2 separate regions of the Homo sapiens genome follow, and region 1 is linked to region 2. The links are contacts of gene promoters, found by promoter capture Hi-C in blood cells and fetal thymus (Javierre and others, 2016). All regions are on one chromosome and are shown on one strand. Each heading gives the region's core, a stretch centred on a gene start or on the middle of the fragment in contact. The rest is flanking DNA. Distances are from core to core; before and after follow the strand shown. Region 1 holds the start of NME9 (NME/NM23 family member 9). Region 2 holds the start of COPB2 (coat protein complex I subunit beta 2).

The links. The method cuts DNA at HindIII sites, captures the fragments that hold promoters and counts their contacts. A CHiCAGO score of 5 or more calls a contact.
Region 1: a contact is called between the fragment with the promoter of NME9 here and the fragment with the promoter of COPB2 in region 2, in 3 of 17 cell types (total CD4 T cells, non-activated CD4 T cells and total CD8 T cells). The highest score is 6.7, in total CD4 T cells.

The regions. Positions count from the first base shown.
Region 1 is chr3:138,327,792-138,332,932 of GRCh38, reverse strand. It overlaps NME9 (NME/NM23 family member 9), which reads left to right and starts at 3,082. Exons shown (of 11, transcript NM_001349018.2): 1 at 3,082-3,630. The coding sequence starts at 3,598. It overlaps LOC124909438 (a long non-coding RNA gene), which reads right to left and starts at 3,000. Exons shown (of 2, transcript XR_007096113.1): 1 at 2,763-3,000. The HindIII fragment of the contact is 16,828 bases long and covers 1-5,141 here.
Region 2 is chr3:139,387,010-139,391,990 of GRCh38, reverse strand. COPB2 (coat protein complex I subunit beta 2) reads left to right here and starts at 2,344. Exons shown (of 22, transcript NM_004766.3): 1 at 2,344-2,443. The coding sequence starts at 2,441. It overlaps COPB2-DT (COPB2 divergent transcript), which reads right to left and starts at 2,188. Exons shown (of 5, transcript NR_121609.1): 1 at 2,058-2,188. It also overlaps the pseudogene LOC124906339. RefSeq lists enhancers at 1,507-1,616, 1,496-2,058, 1,827-2,126, 2,059-2,620, 2,417-2,666. The HindIII fragment of the contact is 7,530 bases long and covers 26-4,981 here.

The DNA of each region.
Region 1 (5,141 bases), core at 1,833-4,332, 1.1 Mb after region 2:
CAGGAGGGACCTGCTGTTACTTGTGGAAAAAAGAAGACATTACACCTGGAAGGAGAGAGGAGTTAGGTTAGACGAAGATGTGTATATACATTCTTATCTTCTACGATGAAAAACGGGAAGGCATCCGAGGAAGCACAGCCTGCTTTGGTCTATGATTTCCTCTTAAAGTGAGGAGGGTCATTCTTGTTTTACAGAGTCACATCAGTTCTGAAGCATTTTGATAAAGAAAATGCTCCTAGTGTCCAATTTGGGTCTCAGAAGGGTTTATTTTGAGTAAACCACCACCTTGTGGCAATAAACATGAGTTGCAGGAGGAAGAGTTTGGTTTTTAATCTTTTGAACTCTAAAACACCTCAGTAGCCCTTAAATTTAGTTAGCAGGTTTTGCATTAAAATAAAACAAACAAAAAAGTACATCACTGAGGGAAGGGCTGATTAAAAATAGATACATTTGAAAAAATCTGACTTTTGGATAATAAATAAAAACACTGACCCAGCGGGGAGCAGTGGCTCATGCCTGTAATCCCAGCACTTTGGGAGGCTGAGGCAGGCGGATCATAAGGTCAAGAGATCTAGACCATCCTGGCCAACCAACGGGGTAAAACCCCATCTCTACTAAAAATACAAAAATTAGCTGGGCATAGTGCCACATGCCTGTAGTCCCAGCTACTCGGGAGGCTGAGGCAGGAGAATTGCTTGAACGCGGGAGGCGGAGGTTGCAGTGAGCTGAGATCACGCCACTGCACTCCAGCCCAGGTGACAGAGCAAGACTCTGTCTCAAAAAAAAACCAAAAAAACAAAAACAACAACAACAAAAAAAACCATTCACCTGTGTCACAAAACATGTAAAAGATGGAAGTTTTATTAAAAAGCAGGAGTGGCCCAAGGTGATTCATCTGGGAAAAAACTGATGAGGTTCCATGTTGTCCAAACTGTAATTTTTTTTTTCTTTGAGATGGAGTCTTGTTCTGTCACCCAGGCTGGAGTGCAGTGGCACGATCTTGGCTCACTGCAACCTCCGTCTTCTGGGTTCAAGTGATTCTCCTGCCTCAGCCTCCCAAGTAGCTGGGATTATAGGCATGCACCACCAGGCCCAGTTATTTGATACTTTTTTTTAGTAGAGACAGGGTTTCACCATGTTGGCCAGGCTCCTGCCCTCAAGTGATCCACCTGCCTCGGCCTCCCAGAGTGCTGGGATTACAGGCGTGAGCTACTGCACCCTACCCAAACTGTACACTTTTGAAAGTGAGAGGGGTTGCTATTAATAATTGCATGGGACAACAGGTGAAAAGTGGGGGTGTCCCAGGCAAACTGGGACATGTGGTTTACCTAAATTTGTTTCTGAGGTTTAGCCTGGCAAAGATGTGAGTACATTTTGTAATAGAGACCACATGGTAAGAAATTTAACCCTTTCAGAAAGAATAAATGTCACTATCTTTCCATGTGCTGGCAAGAGGAATTTAGCATCTGATTTGAATTTTATTTTGGAAACTAAATTCTAAGGGAGATTCCACACCATTCAAGAGCTTCAGCAACCACCACCTTGTGGCAATGAACATGATTTGCATCTAGTCAACTCAGTTTGCAATGTGGTGTCTTAAGGACTGCCTGTGGCTCTGCGTAATATTATCATGGAACTGAATATTGCCATGGGACTGAATGCAAGAAAAGAGTAGGTGGATTCGGAGCTGAAGTGGGAGAAGGCAGGATGACAGGTAGGAAGATGTTCGGTCTCCAGTATACCCATCGCCCTGTACTTCACAGAGGGTTGCTGGGTACCTCATGGCCAAACAGGGTATCAGCACTCCCTGGATGGAAATCATTTGGTGTATGCTTCACTTAGGAAGAATTGATATCTTAACAATATTAATTCTTCCTATCCATGAACACGGAATATTTCTTCATTTATTTAAATCTGTGAGATCTCTTTCATCAGCTGTGATTGATTCCTAGTTTAATTCTATTGCAGTCAGAGAACATACTTTGTTCTATCCTTTTAAATTTGTTAAGCTATGTTTTATGGCCTAGATTGTGGTCTATCTCAGTGAATGTCCCATGTGAGCTTGAGAAAGAATCTATATTCCGCTGTTGTTGAACTAAATATTGCATAAATGTCAATTAGATCAATTTGATATTTTTCAGTTCAACTATATCCTTGCTCATTTGCTTCTGCTGGATGTATTAATTACTTTTTAAAAATGGTATGAAAGCATTCTATTATAATACTGAGTTTACCTATTTTTCCTTGCAGTTTTATCTTCTTTTGCCTCACATATTTCGGTGCTCTGTTTTTAAGTACATACATATTAAGTATTGTTATGTCTTCCCAAATAACTGATCCCTTTAACTTTATGTAATGTCCCTGTTTATACCTGATAAATTTCCTTGTTCTGAAGTCTGCTTTTCTTGAAATTAACATACCTACTTCAGCTATTTTTTTAATTAGTGTCAGCCTGGTATAGCTTTCTCTATCCTTTTGCTTTTAATGTATTTTCTTGTGGATAACACACGATTGGGCTTTGTTTGTTTTTGAAATCCATTCTGACAATCTCTTTTTTAATTGGTGTAATCAGATTATTCACATTTAAAGTGGTTATTGATACAGTTGGATTAATATCTACAATGTCTGTAACTGTTTTGTATGTGTCTCACTTGACTTTCATATCTAATTTTGAATTTGTAATTTCATATTCTTTGCCTTAAAGAGAACGCTTGCAGATCCCTCAAAACCTGGAGACACCCCCCACCTTGCACACATTATACCGGTATGTGATGGTAGAAAAGCTGCACATCAGTCTTGGCAGGCAGGGCAGGAGGGATGCAGGGATTCACAGATGCGACTGTGCAACGCACAGATGCACTGGGTCTTTGCTTGGTGGGTTCGAAGCCTCCAGACGCTGACAAACACTGCAGCCAATGAGTGGGTTCCTATGGTCCGATATGGAGGGCAAGGGGCGGGACTCCCTCCTGCCTCTCCCTGGCTGGGTTCAGAGCCTCCGCGGAGAGACTGCGTTGGGCCCAGAGTGGGCGTGGCTTACGTGTCCGCCGGCTTTCCTGGCAGGCCTGGCGGGGGGGCCAGGTTGCCATGACGACCGCGGCTAGGTCGCGGCAGACTCGGTTGGTGACTCCGGGCGCGTCGAAGATCTTGTACCTGTCGTTCGCAGTGGCTCACTTTCCCAGTAATCCATAAGAACAGCAGGGATAACAGGGTCCCATGTCGTTTTTTTGTCAGAATTCCTCGACTGGCGACCCTGTGCCCGACAGGCTGCACCGCGCCCGGCGCACTGACTCCGGCCTCTGCGCGCGCCCCCTGGCCGGCTCCGGGGTGGGGAGGGGGCTTCGCAGATCCCCAGAAAACCGCCCGGCGAGCCACGAGCCCGTGGACTGCAGGCTCCGCTTCCTCGCGGGGTGTTCACTTTGTATCAGTGTGCTGATTTGCCGCCAGTTAGAAGCACCTTAAAAAGGGGCCGGGGGCCGTAGGAGGGGGGCTTGTCTGAAGGAGGCTCTGGGCTTGCTGATCCACGCAGCGGTTTGTCGCGAGGCTGCGGGGGAACGGCCCACGGCCGCGGTAACAGGGCTTCGTCTTCTTTGCAGAGCCATGGGCAGCAGGAAGAAGGAAATTGCCCTGCAGGTAAGCCTCAAGGGGCGCTAGCTTCCAGCTCTGGGTTGGGCTCGGGGAAGAGGAGGGTGATTAGAGCGGGGTTGCAGTATAAAAGTGACATTCTGTTTGCCAGCAGTACGTGACAGTGTTCTCAAACTTGAGTGATGTACCCTTCCGTCTTAAAGGGACAAAACTTATCTTGGAACCCCAGTGATGACAAATTTTACGCAAACAAAATTAATGCAAACAAAACTGAGTAGAAGCTGTTTACATTTATAGTGCTTATACAACCATAAAACCTAAACATGCATTAAATAAAACTATAAACTAAGAAAATACGAATCAACATAACTCGATGTGACCGTTATTTTGTTCTTGTTGAAATACAACTGCAGCTTGCACAGAGAATACAGTATAGGTTCTTTTGACTTTGGGCATGAGTCTGTAACTGTGTGCTCTGTGGAGACCCAGTTTTCCCACCACTGTTCTCATCAAATTTCACTTATTAACAAATATGTTTTGAGATATATTATGTGCTGGACATATGTTATATAGAGTGTCTTACTTCATTTGCATGTGGGACAAGTGAATTCAGAAGCCAGCAGCTGCTCTTCTTCTTGGTCCTGGACAATAGATAGTGGTTGATTCTGAAGTGATGGTAAAAACATGCAGGCATAGACCCTGGAATTAGGAGAGAGTGCTTGGTCATAAGGAGATCAGCTGGATGATCTGCAACATGGGAACATTTTAAAACGAACTTAAAATGCCTCATCATCAGCTGGCCCCAGTAAGATGCATACCAAGGCTACAGCGCCTCCTAGATAATAGAGCATTAGTGGTTTTGAGACATCTGGTTTCTCTCTTATTGTCCTCAGCAGGACCAGCAGTTTGCATGTGGATTTCAAAAGCCTAGTGGTTTAAAAAAGAGGAAAGGGGAAAGCAGCATCATTCTAAGGGTACCCCATGCTGGGGGTGGGAGGGGTGTGGGGTGGGGTGGGGTGGGATTTTTAGACTGGAAGTCAGAAGACCTGATGTAGTTCTTGTGTCCTCTATAGCCAACTGTGTCTTTGACTACATCACATAACCTCTCCAGGCTATAGCTTGCCCATCTATGGAATGAGGATGTTGTGTGAATTATCCCTAAGGGCCTTCTTCCAGCCTTGATATTCTAGGATTCTAGAGTCAGAAGCCACTTCATACGTGAATGTTCTGGTTGAAGTAAATTCTGATCAACTGGTCCTACCATTCATTGCTGTGTGACTCATTTCCTCAACTCTCTGGCCTCCGTATCCTTTACGTAGACAGGAGGGATGATACCTGTCCTGTAACGCCTGCAGAGCTGTGATGAGACTCCTTTAGACACTTCCTGGCTGGTCTGATGTTGTCTGTGGTGTCTCTAATGTTATTGCCCCATATTATGGTCATTTCATGTGTTGATGCCCTAGAGCTCCTATGGGGGTAATAACTTTTGTTAGCAATGTTGTTATTTTTTCATGTGTATTACTCAGAGCTCTGAGTACAATGCAGTACTCAAACTAAGT
Region 2 (4,981 bases), core at 1,095-3,594:
AAACCCTTTACCAATCTGCTAAGCTTGTCTATATTTCTTTTCTTCCCAACGGTTATTTTTCCTAACCTTCCAGTCTCCTCTAAACCAAGTAAACAAAAGATTTTAATTTAAACCCACAGTCGAACGCCTAGTGAAATACACGTGTATATTTAATGTTATGTATTAGTTCCTATTTAAGAATTTTATTTCTTTAAAATTTATTTCAACCAAAATCCAACACCAAATTCTATGGGTAATATCTTAAGGCAGCACCTAGTATAGTGCTTTGTATATAGTACACATTCAGTATGTAATGGTTAAAAGAGTGAATTTACAGTCTACAATTGCAGGACTTAATTTTGGCTAATTGCAGTGGAAAACATGAGAAAAGATATAGTCCAAGTAAGAATGACACTTGAGGGTTCAGGCCCGCAACACCAGCTAGGTAGACCCTTAGGTGGCCCAGTGGTATACAAAGATTTAAGCATTCCCAGCTGAGCCCCTTGACAATAGAGATACATCATTTTATTTTGTATCACTTAGTACTGTGCCAAATCCAAAAATACTCTCTCAAGTGCAAGAGTATTCAGGAGTTAGAAATATTGAAAGTTCCACTATTCAAGCAAATTAGGTATAGTTCATATAATTTTTTCAACTCAGGATCCTCAGTCACTCCATAGAGTAAGCAAAGTATGCAATTACTAGAATTATTAGTCTCAATTTACATAAGATCACACTGCTGGCACTAAACTCCAGTTCCAGACTCTTTTTTCCACTATTGAATGCCACAGAAACATAAAAAAAAAAAAAATGGAAGGATCTTTAGAAACCATGTAGCTGGATTTTTTTTAAGATGATGAAAACTGAGGCCCATGAAGAGAGTCACATTAGCTCAAGGCTCCTACTAAAGCCAAATAATTTCGTGCAAAATCATCTCCCTCTGATTATCATTATCTACACACACAAATACATAATTTTTCTTTTTGCCTTTCTGAAAATCTGGAGGTCTGAAAAGACTTTAAGATTTCTCTCAAGTTAAAAATACACGTTTGTACGTGTAACCAGAGGGCAAGTTTTCTATGGTCCACATGTTTTCTTAAAAAAAAAAAAAAAAAGGAAATACAGGAGATGTGCAGTGCGTGTGACAGGCAAATGTTCTCGAACTTTATTGTGTAGTGTAACCCCTATGGCACAGGCCCTTAGAATTCAGCCACATTAATGAAGAGATATTTTTATGTAGTAGAAAGAGCACAAACTTTGAGGTGTTTTGTTTTGAGACAGAGTCTTGCTCTGTTGCCCAGGCTGGAGTGCAGTGGCGCGATCTCAGCTCACTGCAACCTCCACCTCCTGGGTTCTAAGCGATTCTCCTGTCAGCCTCTGGAACAGCTTGGATTACAGGCGCCCGCCACCACGCCAGGCTAATTTTGTATTTTTAATAGAGACGGGGTTTCACCATGTTGGCCAGGCTGGTCTCGAACTCCTGACCTCAGGTGATCCACCCGTTTCGGCCTCCCAAAGTGCTGGGATTACAGGCGTGAGCCACCGCGCCCGGCCCAACTTTGAGGTTTTATCTGCCACTTACTATGCAGTCTTGGCTAGAACACTTAACTTCTTTGAGCCCGAGTTTCCTCATCATTAAATGGAGATAATTCAGGTTTGATGTGAAGATTTGAGAAGAAGGTATGTCTGACACACTGCCGAAGATCGATAAATATTTGTTGAATGAATAACACAGCCAGCCGAAGCTCAACAAAAGACACATACACAAACACACCCACACGGTTGGGTAGTTGCCGTCTCCCGGGGAGCTCCAGAAGTGTAAGCTCTCAGCCCTCCCTCTGACTTCAGAAGCCTGAAGCTACTAAGCCCGCAGCCCGGTGCGTCTCTTCGCAGCCTTAATCAGTGCCCGGGCAAAGGCCTGCAGAGAATTCTCTGGGCCTCGCACCAGGCCCCAAGAACACACTGGAGACTCGTTTCGCCTTCTCCCTCGCCGTTTCCCCCCTCCAGGGCCAGAGTCCGAGGAAGCCCGATAGCGGTTCTCGGCCTCCGAAACACAACTACAACACTGGGGAGCTTGCCCTGCAGTTAGCGTCCAGCGGGGATTAGGCACTTCGTTTTCCTCATCGTTTCAATCTCTATCTTCTGGTCGGGGTCCAAGCTCAGCGGCACCACGTCACGGCCCTTAGTGGTCTAGGCCACACCCCTCCTTCCCGACAGCCTCAAGTCCACTACCAGCGGTCTGGAAGGCCACGTTGCCTAGGAAACTGGGGCGGGGCTTGGGAAACGACGGCCCTGCGCGCAGTTTGCGCAGGCGCTCCGGCCCTGGCCTCTGACTATCGCGAGAATCGGCTCCCGGAAGTTCCACGTCAGTCAGTCTGACGGTCAGTGGATCGGTGGGTTTATCTCAAGGCCTGAGTAGCCGGTAACAAACGAGGGTTCCCGGGATTGGACCGACGCAGCCATGGTAGGTCCAGATCCCGTAGAAGGGAGCGGGGTCCCATAGGTTACGGCCGATTCCTGGAGCTTCTGGACTGAGGGCCGCGGTAAGCAGTGGTCTGGGCTCCCGCTGCGGCCGCCGCCTCAGGCCTTGCGGGGTCTTGGTCGTTTGATTCCAGGAAGGGAGAAGGCGGTGGGGCCTAGGGGACCGGGGTGATTTGGGGAGGCAAAGCCTGCTAGTGAGGGGTTTTGTCTCCCCTGGCGCTTGTGGCGCTTGCCAGAGCTCCTGCAGTCTGCAGCGGGATCGGTGGTGTAGGGAAACACAGAAGCCGAATGTGTTGAACTCCGTAGGAGGCTTTGGTAAAACTAAAGTTTGCCTTTAAAACGGTGGTAGTTAATCTACACTCCTGTTGGGCTTATTCTGGGGATAGTGTGTGCTGGCTACAAACTATAAACAAGCAAAGAAGCCAAAAACAAATGTATATGGAGTCAAAAATGGAATTTCAAATGCTTTGATATCTCAGCTGTTAGGTTTCTAAGGGGAGAAGAAGGGTTGGGAGGAAGGGGGTGCTGTTTATAACACTGGCTGGTGTGCTTTTATGCATTTGCAAATCCAGTGGCTGGTAAGAATAGTAATTGTTAGAGCACTTTGTTATTATCACCGTAACCCTAAAAAACGCCCTAGACTAGTTTGCACAAGAGTGTTATAATAATAAGGAAAGAAAACGATAGTATAAGAATATCTTCCGTCTCTATTGAAAATGCAAAAAAAAAAAAAAGAAATTAGCCGGGCGTGGTGGCGGGCCCCTGTAGTCCCAGCTACTCAGGAGGCTGAGGCAGGAGAATCGCTTGAACCCGGGAGGCAGAGGCTGCAGTGAGCCGAGGTCGCACCACTGCACTCCAGCCTGGGACAGAGCAAGACTCCGTCTCAAAAAAAAAAAAAAAAAAACTTGTTATGAAGCACAGAATCAAACATTTTGGAGCTTGAAGACGCTAGGGATTAAGTCCCTCATCTTAAGTTAAAAAATTTTTTTAAATTATGTTTCTACAAGGTTAATTGTGGCAAAGTTGGAACTAGGAAAAAGTTAGGAATACTCCCAGGGAAAATGCACAGAGAAACAAACATTTTTGCATAAAATTCAGTGCATTCATTCACAGACACCCCCCCCCACAATCCATGGACCTTCTTTTTTTTTTTAATTTGTTTTATAAAAAATATGGAACGCTTCACGGATTTGCGTGTCATACTTGCGCAGGGGCCACGCTAATCTCCTCTCTATGTGCTGCCGAAGCTAGCACTATCCGTGGACTTTCTTGGGCACCCAGGTTACAGTCCCTGAACAAGACCTCAAGCCTCTTAATTAGAGCACTTCGTATTACTAACTACCTGATGTAGTTTGGGTCTGCTGTGGTTGCAGTAATGGACGTTTTTGGAAAAGGCTCTTGGATCTGCCTAATTTCATTTTCTTTTGCCGTCTTTACATTTACCAGTGTATTTCTATAATGAAATATTGCCTTCATTCTTTATATATTTTAAATCCTTTGTGGAAAATACAAAACGTGAATTCATTCATTTGTACATTTACCATAGAATATTTAGTGTCTGCCATGCACTTTGCTAAACATGGCTGCCTAATTCTCACAGCAGCTGGGAGATAGAGTTATATGTTTGTGAAGTGGTTACTGTAGGTCAGGCACTGCTCTAACTGGCTAACTCTGAATTTAATTCTTACAGCACTAAGAGGTAGATAATAATAATATTCCTGTTTTACATAAGTCAAACTTGAAAGAGGTTAAGTAAATTTGCCCACTATTGCACATCTGAAATGAGTGGTGGAACTGAAATTTAAATCCATCATGGCTTTCTAGTCTTGTGTTATGGTATCTGTTCTTAAACCCCCATACTCAAATATATAAGGTGATCTGGAGATAAAGACATGTATAAGCAATGACCCTGGCTTTAAGGAGGATCTACTCTAGAAAGCAAGAAAAGATGTGTACACAAGTGTACCATGAACAGTTAAAATGAAATCCTATAGGATTCCCTAGGAAAGAATGCTTCAGGCTAGGGTAACTAGAAAGGTCTTACTGGTGGCAGTGGCATTTAAGCTGAGTCCTAAATGCATCCAGCTTTTGGAAGGTGGAGGGATATATTTAAAGTTGAGGATACAGTGTGAGCATCCTAATCATCTTTGTCCCAAAGTACCTAGTACATTGTCTTATTCAAAATAGTCACTTAACTGTTGGGAGAAATATTATCACAAGAACCCTTGCCTGTTCGTTCTTTCTTTCTTTTCTTTCTTTTCTTTTTCTTTTCTTTCCTTCCTTACTTCCTTCTTTCCTTCTTTCTTTCTTTCTTTCTTTCTTGACAGAATCTCACTCTGTCGCCCAGGCTGGAGTGCAGTGGTGCAATCGTGGCTCACTGCAACCTCCACCTCCCAGATTCAAGTGATTCTGCAGCCTCAGCCTGCCGAGTAGCTGGGACTGCAGGCGCGTGCCACCACGTCCAACTAATTTTTTTTTTTTTTTTTGTATTTTTAGTAGAGACGGGGTTTCACCATGTTGG